Linked DNA regions of Homo sapiens: region 1 is linked to region 2. Evidence: promoter capture Hi-C in 16 types of primary human blood cells and fetal thymus (Javierre and others, 2016). All regions are on one chromosome and are shown on one strand. The core of a region is centred on a gene start or on the middle of the fragment in contact, and the rest is flanking DNA. Distances in the headings are between cores, read along the strand shown. Region 1 overlaps DBN1 (drebrin 1). Region 2 holds the start of LMAN2 (lectin, mannose binding 2).

The links. The method cuts DNA at HindIII sites, captures the fragments that hold promoters and counts their contacts. A CHiCAGO score of 5 or more calls a contact.
Region 1: a fragment that was not itself captured here is called in contact with the fragment with the promoter of LMAN2 in region 2 in 6 of 17 cell types (activated CD4 T cells, non-activated CD4 T cells, total CD8 T cells and 3 more); the score reaches 9.7 in activated CD4 T cells.

What each region holds. Positions count from the first base shown.
Region 1 is chr5:177,460,271-177,464,417 of GRCh38, reverse strand. DBN1 (drebrin 1) reads left to right here. Exons shown (of 15, transcript NM_001363541.2): 9 at 3,715-3,774; 10 at 3,863-3,986. Among named protein-coding and RNA genes, the nearest start is that of DBN1, 11 kb to the left of the region's middle. The HindIII fragment of the contact is 7,642 bases long and covers 1-4,147 here.
Region 2 is chr5:177,348,895-177,353,057 of GRCh38, reverse strand. LMAN2 (lectin, mannose binding 2) reads left to right here and starts at 1,390. Exons shown (of 8, transcript NM_006816.3): 1 at 1,390-1,606; 2 at 1,767-1,885. The coding sequence starts at 1,411. RefSeq lists enhancers at 1,200-1,249, 1,260-1,449 and a silencer at 1,091-1,305. The HindIII fragment of the contact is 10,936 bases long and covers 1-3,984 here.

The sequences.
Region 1 (4,147 bases), core at 432-2,931, 110 kb before region 2:
CTGGAGTGCAATGGCACAATCTCAGCTCACTGCAACCTCTGCCTCCTGGGTTCAAGCGATTCTCTTGCCTCAGCCTCCTGAGTAGCTGGGATTACAGGCGTGCACCACCATGCCCAGCTAATTTTTGTATTTTTAGTAGAGACAGGGTTTCACCGTGTTGGTCAGGCTGGTCTCGAACTCCTGACCTCGTGATCCACCTGTCTCGGCCTCCCAAAGTCCTGGAATTACAGGCGTGAGCCACCGCACCCTGCCTGATAAAGTTTATTTATTTATTTATTTATTTTTATTTATTTATCTTTTTTAAGATGAAGTCTCACTCTTGTCCCCCAGGCTAGAGTGCAATGGCGCCATCTCAGCTCACTGCAACCTCTGCCTCCTGGGTTCAAGCGATTCTCCTGCCTCAGCCTCCCAAGTAGCTGGGATTACAGGTGCACGGCTCCATGCCCGGCTAATGTTTGTATTTTTAGTAGAGACAGGGTTTCACCATGTTGGCCAGGCTGGTCTCAAACTCCTGACCTCAGGTGATCCTCCCACCTCGGCCTCCCAAAGTGCACTGCACCCAGCCCTGATAAAGTTTATTTTTTTGCTAACATTTCAAACATACACACATGCAGGTAGACAGAATAGTGTTGTGAACCCCCTGAGCTGATTTATTTTCACCAGTTATCAACATTTCAGGTAAAGTCTGAAGGAGCTTACCATTATTTTATAGTCCCATCTGGCCCTTCAAGTATAGTTCACGTGAGAGTGACAGTGGACATTCTAGCAGGTCAGTGTGGTACCCTTTCAATTTCAGGTCCTCTAAGGAAGGGAATATGCGAGAGACTTTGGGATTTAGCACTGTGAAATGCTTTCTCTTGGCTTAAGGAGCTGTTGCTTTCTCTCCCCTGTTACGAATTGTGTTCCATATCTGAGTTCCCTTTTTGCCTGGCCTGCAGGGGAGCTCCCGTGTATCTGAAAATGCTTTAGGCACAGCAGTGGCTTTGACCCATGTGGTTAGTGCGTTGATCTCTCTCCTCCCTCTGGGCCTTACTTGTTTCAGTGTTCACATGGTTGGTAGTTTATTAAAGCCTTTGTGGAGGGCTGGGCTCAGTGGCTCATGCCTGTAATCCCAGCACTTTGGGAGGCCAAGGCAGGCGGATCATGAGGTCAGGAGATCGAGACCATCCTGGCTAACATGGTGAAACCCCGTCTCTACTAAAAAATACAAGAAATTAGCCGAGCGTGGTGGCGGGCGCCTGTAGTCCCAGCTACTCGGGAGGCTGAGGCAGGAGAATGGCGTGAACCCGGGAGGCGGAGCTTGCAGTGAGCCGAGATCTCGCCACTGCACTCCAGCCTGAGTGAAAGACTCTGTCTCAGATTAAAAAAAAAAAAGCCTTTGTGGTAGTTGCCTCTGGTCCTTTCTTTGAACAAGGCAGAGGAACCAACTGAGATTACAGCAGGCAGTGGGCAGAGCAGCAAAGGCTGGTGGGACACAGGCTCATGGGAAGGTGAAGAGCCTAGGCTGACTGGAACCCCGTGGGCTGAGGAGTGGGGGAGATTTGATTGGGAAAGGAGAGCAAGGGCAGAGGAGGAGTTTAGACTTCATTCTGGGGGTCACAAAGTTATCACTGAGGTGATAGCCCTCCTGAGGTGGGATACTACGAAGGGCCCTTCTCCCAGTGCTCCTGACATAAGCTAAAATTTTAGATTATAGGCTCAAAAACAGAGCAGCCCTGGGACTTCACCACCTTAGCAGCCCCTCCTGCCCAAGCTGCCACCTGAGCAGCAGGGGACACCGACTAAGAAGCCTTTGGTGTGTGAGTGCAGTTGAGCAAACATGCGCCCGCCTTGTGCTGGCCACCCACCCGGAGACCCCGGTCCTCATCCTGCGTTGCTCACAGCGGAGGGGGGAGGTGCCTCCGGAAACAGGAACTTAGGATGTGGTGTCATCGTGGTGGAAGCCAGGAGCACCCTGTGGGGACCCAGAGGAGGAAATGACCTGAACAAGCCTCTTGTTCAGAGGTCCTTCCCCAGGAAGCAGTGGCCACGCTGCAGCTGGAAACCAGAGGGCCTGGCCCCCGGGTGGGGAGCAGGCATTTGGGAGGGAGGCCAGTCTCCCATGCTGAGGCTTGGAGGTGGGAACGGGTGTGCCTGTTCTGGGAACTGACTGCGTCGTGCTGAGGACTTGATGTCTACATCTCACAGTATGTGGGAGCCTTGGGGTGGGGGCCGGCAGGGGGTGGTGTTGGAGAGGTGACGGCTAGGTCAGGCAGGGGTGGGGGACGTAGGCCAAGTGCGGGCGCTGCCCACCCAAAACAACGTGTGCAGTGGGCAGGTGAAGCCAGTAGGCGATGGTGGGGCCGGGGGTGAGCGGGTGGCACACGCCTGTCTTAAGGGGGCTGCGGCGAGGCCCCGGTGATGGCTGCTCCGGGCTTGCAGGTGATGTCGCCAGGGCTCTGTCACCTCAAGAGAAACTGGGACCCTCATCTCAGTATGAAAGTTCCTGGTTTTTAAGTGGTGGTAACTAATGAACATGGTTTAAAAATATCATACCAGCAAAACAAAAGCCATCTGTGGGTCATATTTAGCCAGTGCTTGCTGTGGCTCATGGGAACCCCTGAGGGATTTTAAGCTCAGGAAAATCATGGTCTGATCCGCATTTTGGAAAGGTCCTTTCAGGGCCTATGGAGAGCAAATAAGGCAGGTAGCAGTGAGGAAGGCTGGACCATGATGCCACGGTCCAGGCAGCAACATTGGGAGCATGGTGGCCCCGGCACTAGGGTAGGAGGTCCAAGAAGTTATCTGCAAAACAAGGAGCACTTCTGGAGGGCCCTAGGCACCTGCTTAGATATGGGGATGAGCAAGTGAGTGAGTGAGCCTGGTGCCCAGAGGCCTGGCAGGTCAGAGATGAGGTGGCTGAGGGCCCTGAGGGAAGAGAGGGGCTGTGTGACAGGGTTTGACGGGGCAGAGGTACCACCTCTGAAACCCTTCCTGCCAGATTGCGAAAGAAGCATGGGGGCTGTAAGAAGGCCAGAAGGGGCCGGGCGCGGTGGCTCACGCCTGTAATCCCAGCACTTTGGGAGGCCGAGGCGGGCGGATCACGAGGTCAGGAGATCGAGACCATCCCGGCTAAAACGGTGAAACCCTGTCTCTACTAAAAATACAAAAAATTAGCCGGGCGTAGTGGCGGGCGCCTGTAGTCCCAGCTACTTGGGAGGCTGAGGCAGGAGAATGGCGTGAACCCGGGAGGCGGAGCTTGCAGTGAGCCGAGATCCCGCCACTGCACTCCAGCCTGGGCGACAGAGCGAGACTCCGTCTCAAAAAAAAAAAAAAAAAAAAAAGAAGGCCAGAAGGCCGGGCACTGGTGGCTCATGACTGTAATCCATCCCAACACTTTGGGAGGCCAAGGCAGGAGGATCCCTTCAGCCCAGAAGTTTGAGACCAGCCTGGGCAACATAGGGAGACCCCATCTCTACCAAAAAATTAAAATTAGCCGGGCATGGTGGTGCACACCTGTAGTCCCAGCTACTCGGGAGGCTGAGGTGGGAGGATTGCTTGAGCCCAGGAGGCAGAGGCTGCAGTGAGCCGTGATTGTACCACTGCTCCCCAGCCTGGGTGGTAGGGCGAGAACCTGTCTTAAAAACAAAATCAATAAATAAAATACAGTAAAAAAGAAGGCCAAAAGCCCCTGTGGGGGGTAGGTGCACCAGACACTGTCCCTTTGGTTTCTAGGGTGACCATCGGGATGAGGAGGAAGAGACCCACATGAAGAAGTCAGAGTCGGAGGTGGAGGTGAGAGCTGGGGGCACCAGCCAGGTGAGGCAGACAGGGCTATCTCAGCTTGCCTGGCCCAGCCCCAACCTTTTCCTCGTGCCCTCAGGAGGCAGCAGCTATTATTGCCCAGCGGCCTGACAACCCAAGGGAGTTCTTCAAGCAGCAGGAAAGAGTCGCATCGGCCTCTGCGGGCAGCTGTGATGTACCCTCGCCCTTCAACCATCGACCAGGTAGTCCTAGGCCCCACCCCCCGTCCGGCCCCACTCCTCAGGTTGCGGCCCTGAGCCTCTCTGGGACTCTCTCAGAAGGGAGGCCTTGCCCAAGCAACCCTTGGAGAAGGCGAGACCCTTCATCCAGCGTGCATCCGCCCACCACTTCCCAGGTGGCAGGA
Region 2 (4,163 bases), core at 141-2,640:
AGGTGTCCGCCACCACGCCGTTAATTTCTTTTGTATTTTAGTAGAGACGGGGTTTCACCGTGTTGCCCAGGCTGGTCTGAAACTCCTGAGCTCAGGTAATCTGCTCGCCTCTGCCTCCCAAAGTGCTAGGATTACAGGCCTCAGCCACTGAGCTCAGCCGGAAGTCTGGATTTCTGATGTGAATGTACATATTCCGACTTTGTGTGTGTGTGTGTGTGTGTGTGTGTGTGTGTGTGTGTGTGTGACAGAGTCTCGCTCTGTCGCCCAGGCTGGAGTGCAGTGACGCGATTTCGGCTCACTGCAAGCTCTGCCTCCTGGGTTCAAGCCATTCTCCTGGCTCAGCCTCCCGAGTAGCTGGGACTACAGACACCTGCCACCACGCCCGGCTAATTTTTTGTATTTTTTAGTAGAGACGGGGTTTCACCGTGCTAGCCAGGATGGTCTCGATCTCCCGATCTCGTGATCCGCCGGCCTCAGCCTCCCAAAGTGCTGGGATTACAGGCGTGAGCCACCACGCCCAGCCTCTATATTCTGACTTTAAAATACTGGTAGTTAAGCCATTTATTAGAATATTGGCAGGTAAAACAGAGCTCTATTCAGCTGCAGGCCACCAGTTTTCGACCTCTGATTCACAGCTTTCCTGGGCCTTCCATGGACGTTACTTGCTGTACCAGGCACTGCGCTCTTTTGCATAGGGATGAGTTCCAGTCATCACTGGGGTCCCAGGCCAGGATCTGTGTCTGTTCCTCTTGCTTCAACCCGACTAGGCCTGAGGAGTTGAGGGTAGTGGAGGCCCTCAAATAATTGGGAATTCTGAGTCTCCAAAGGCGCGAAGCTGGGGCGCCTGACGGCAGGCACGGCTTAAAGGCTTGCCCAGGGCCACCCGGGGAGGACAAGGGTTGGAATGCAGGACTCCGCCTTCAATTCAGAGCTCCTTTCTCCAGGACTAGAAAAGGTTATTCCAGAGACGGGACTTGCGGCCAGAAGCCCAAGACGTCCTAGTCTTCGCGAATCCGCCCCATTAGAGCGACCGACAAAAACTACAAATTCCAGCATGCCCCGAGTCGCGGACGGCCCTCGCGCTCCCGCCGGCTCCAACCATCCCTCTGCTCCTCATTGGCTCGCAAGCCTAACGTGCTGTTCCGTGACTGGTTACAGCTCTTGTCGCTCGAAAGAACCCATTGCTGGGGCTGGCCGGCGTGTGCCTTGGAGCCTCTAAGGAGATGAAACTGCACTCAACCAGGATGAGAGGCTGCCCGGCCAATGCAGCTGCCGCCCCGTCTGCTGCGGAGGCTTTGCTTTTTGACTCCCTGGCGACAGTAAAGTTGAAGAGCTTCCGGCCGGAGGCCAATAGATGGGACCCCCGGAAGGCGGAAGTTCTAGGGCGGAAGTGGCCGAGAGGAGAGGAGAATGGCGGCGGAAGGCTGGATTTGGCGTTGGGGCTGGGGCCGGCGGTGCCTGGGAAGGCCTGGGCTTCTCGGCCCCGGCCCTGGCCCCACTACACCTCTCTTTCTTCTTTTGTTGTTGGGGTCTGTGACTGCGGATATAACTGACGGCAACAGTGAACATCTCAAGCGGGAGCATTCGCTCATTAAGCCCTACCAAGGTGAAGCCCTTGGGGCGGGAATGAGTGAAGAGTGAGGGCGAGGCTGAACAGGGCTAGGGGAAGGCGTGCCCTTTCTCCTGAGCAGAGCATCTCTGTGGGTTTCCTGCCTCTGGTGAGGCCAGTCCTGGCGTGGCCTCTTAGCACCTGTCTCTTCCCACAGGGGTCGGTTCCAGCTCTATGCCCCTCTGGGACTTCCAGGGCAGCACTATGCTCACGAGCCAGTACGTACGTCTGACCCCTGACGAGCGCAGCAAAGAGGGCTCTATCTGGAACCACCAGGTGAGTGGTTCTCAAGAGGATAGGCGTACTGTGCGGTTGGCTGCTAGTCCCTGCCTCCCGAGCAGCTGAGACCCCAGCTTCGTTTATAGGTTTGCACCTCCGTCCCTGGCCTTTTCCTCATCTCGGTCACACCCACCAATAATAAGAGGCGATGGGTATTGGGTACTTACTATGTGTCAGGAGCTGCGCTTGACACTTTACATCCTCCTCACTTTAAAAGCCATGCGAGATGAGTAATGTTATCTCCATTTTACCCACTGAGAAGCTAAGACTCAGGTTTGAAAGGGCCTTACCCAAAGTTACATAGCCAGAAAGTAGTGGAACTGTCAGGCTGTCTGCCTTGAACCCCCTCAGTAATGGGAAGAACCGAGCGAACTGGATCTTTATTGGGTGTTTTGCTGTGTATTAGGCACTGACCTTGCCATGCCTTATTGCATTTAATTTTCAAACAAGCTGTTTGAAATAGATGGCTTTCATGACTATACAAAGATAACCCAGCTAGCAAATGTCATAAACAGTATTTAAACTCTGATTTGTCTGATCTCTAAGCCCAGCAGTTCACTCGATGTACTTGACTCTTTTCACCTGGACAGTGGAGGAACCCCTTAGAACCCTTTTTGCAATGCTTGGTTGAGGGTCTTGTCATCAGTAGTGTGGAGGGACTGGACCTGTGGGCAGTTCTAGTGTCTGTGACCTTTGCCTCAGAGTATGTAGTATGTAGTATGTGAGCAGTGGCCAATGACAGCTGCTACACAGAATCCACACTGAGGCAGTCAAGGTGAGGAAAAAGGGGAAAGAAGAATAATTTGGGGCTGGGTTACAGCTTGGAGCGGGACCTGCTCCTGCCCCAGCTTGCCTAATCTCAGCCCTTCCCATGGCTTAAGCTGTTGGCCAGTGTTCTAGTTTTCTCCATCACCCTGCTCTCTGATCCCTGCTGGTTGACTTTCTTGTTTAGTTCTGGGAACCCACACTGTCCTTGTGTTGCCTGGTCTGCCCGTCCCCTCTGCTCCTCCTCTCCTTCCTGCCCCGAGCCTCCACACTGCTGTTAGTGGCATCTGCGGATACTTTCTTCAGCTTTCAGTCTGATCCTCAGAGCGTGGAGTCCCCTGTGAAGGGGTAAGCATGCATTATGTCTGCACAATCTGGCCCCTTGTGCATCTCCAGTCATTCTCTGTGTTAATTTTGTTCCAGCCCCCCCTGGCTGCCTTCTTGCCTCAGGACCTTTGCACCTGTTGTTCCCTCTGTCTGGGACACTGCCTCCTGGCTCCTCATGCCTGCTTGGTTCCTTCTCATCTGTTAAGTCTCAATTCAAGTGCCACCCACGCAGACATTTCTTCATTAACCACCCTATCTCCCCCGAGTCACATTCTGTCACATTCTGTCTTAGGGCTTTCAGATATTTTAAAGAAATGATAATTCAGCCTTATATTTTTCATGGAAATGAGTTCAGTATAGCATTATTATTATTTTTTGAAAGCAAGGTGCAAACAGTGCTGGAACTGTAGAAATCAGGAGTAGCCACAAGTAATAGACGCATCTAAGACAGTGGCTTACATTTTGGTTGTAGATAGCTGATGGTTGGCATCATCAGTGGCTCGAGGATGTCACAGGACTGAGAGGCTTCTGCACTTGCCTTCATCGAATTTTCAGTCTGGAGTACAATTGTTTTGCCTTCCTTCCTCCACCTTTCTATTTGGCTCTGCTGATATTCCTGAAACATTTGGAGTGCTTCCTGTAAACTCTGGAAAGAAATGGCTTGGAAATCAGAATTTTCTGTTCAGTGTTTCCCAAGAACTGCCTCTTCCTTTAATGAGCTGGAGAGATGCTTCCTAAACTTTTCCCTTTTTTATCTCCTTCATTCACTCCATCCGGGAGAGGCATGCACTCAGGCGAACATTCCCTGAACACCTGCTGTCTTCTGAGCAGCCATAAAATAGCTCCTGCTGTGGTGCAGGGGGGGTGGTCTAGATGAAGGAGTGGCTCAGAGTTGACTAGAACTCTTAAGTGCCTGGTGGCTGCAGCATAGGACCTGGGGAGGCTGCTCAGGCCCTGTCCTTTTGGGGGTCTTGTGCGGAGGCTGCGGCAGTGGTCTTTAAGCTTTCTTTGCTGTTGTAGCAACCTTTTGAAAAGTTGGCATCAAAAATTGTTTGTCATTAGGTTTAAGTATTTGCAAAGGATGACAGCATATTTTAAATATTGACATTTTAAACTAAAACTGTTCAGTATTTTAAACATTCAGTGGAATCTAAATATTGCAATTTGATATCCACTTTTTTTT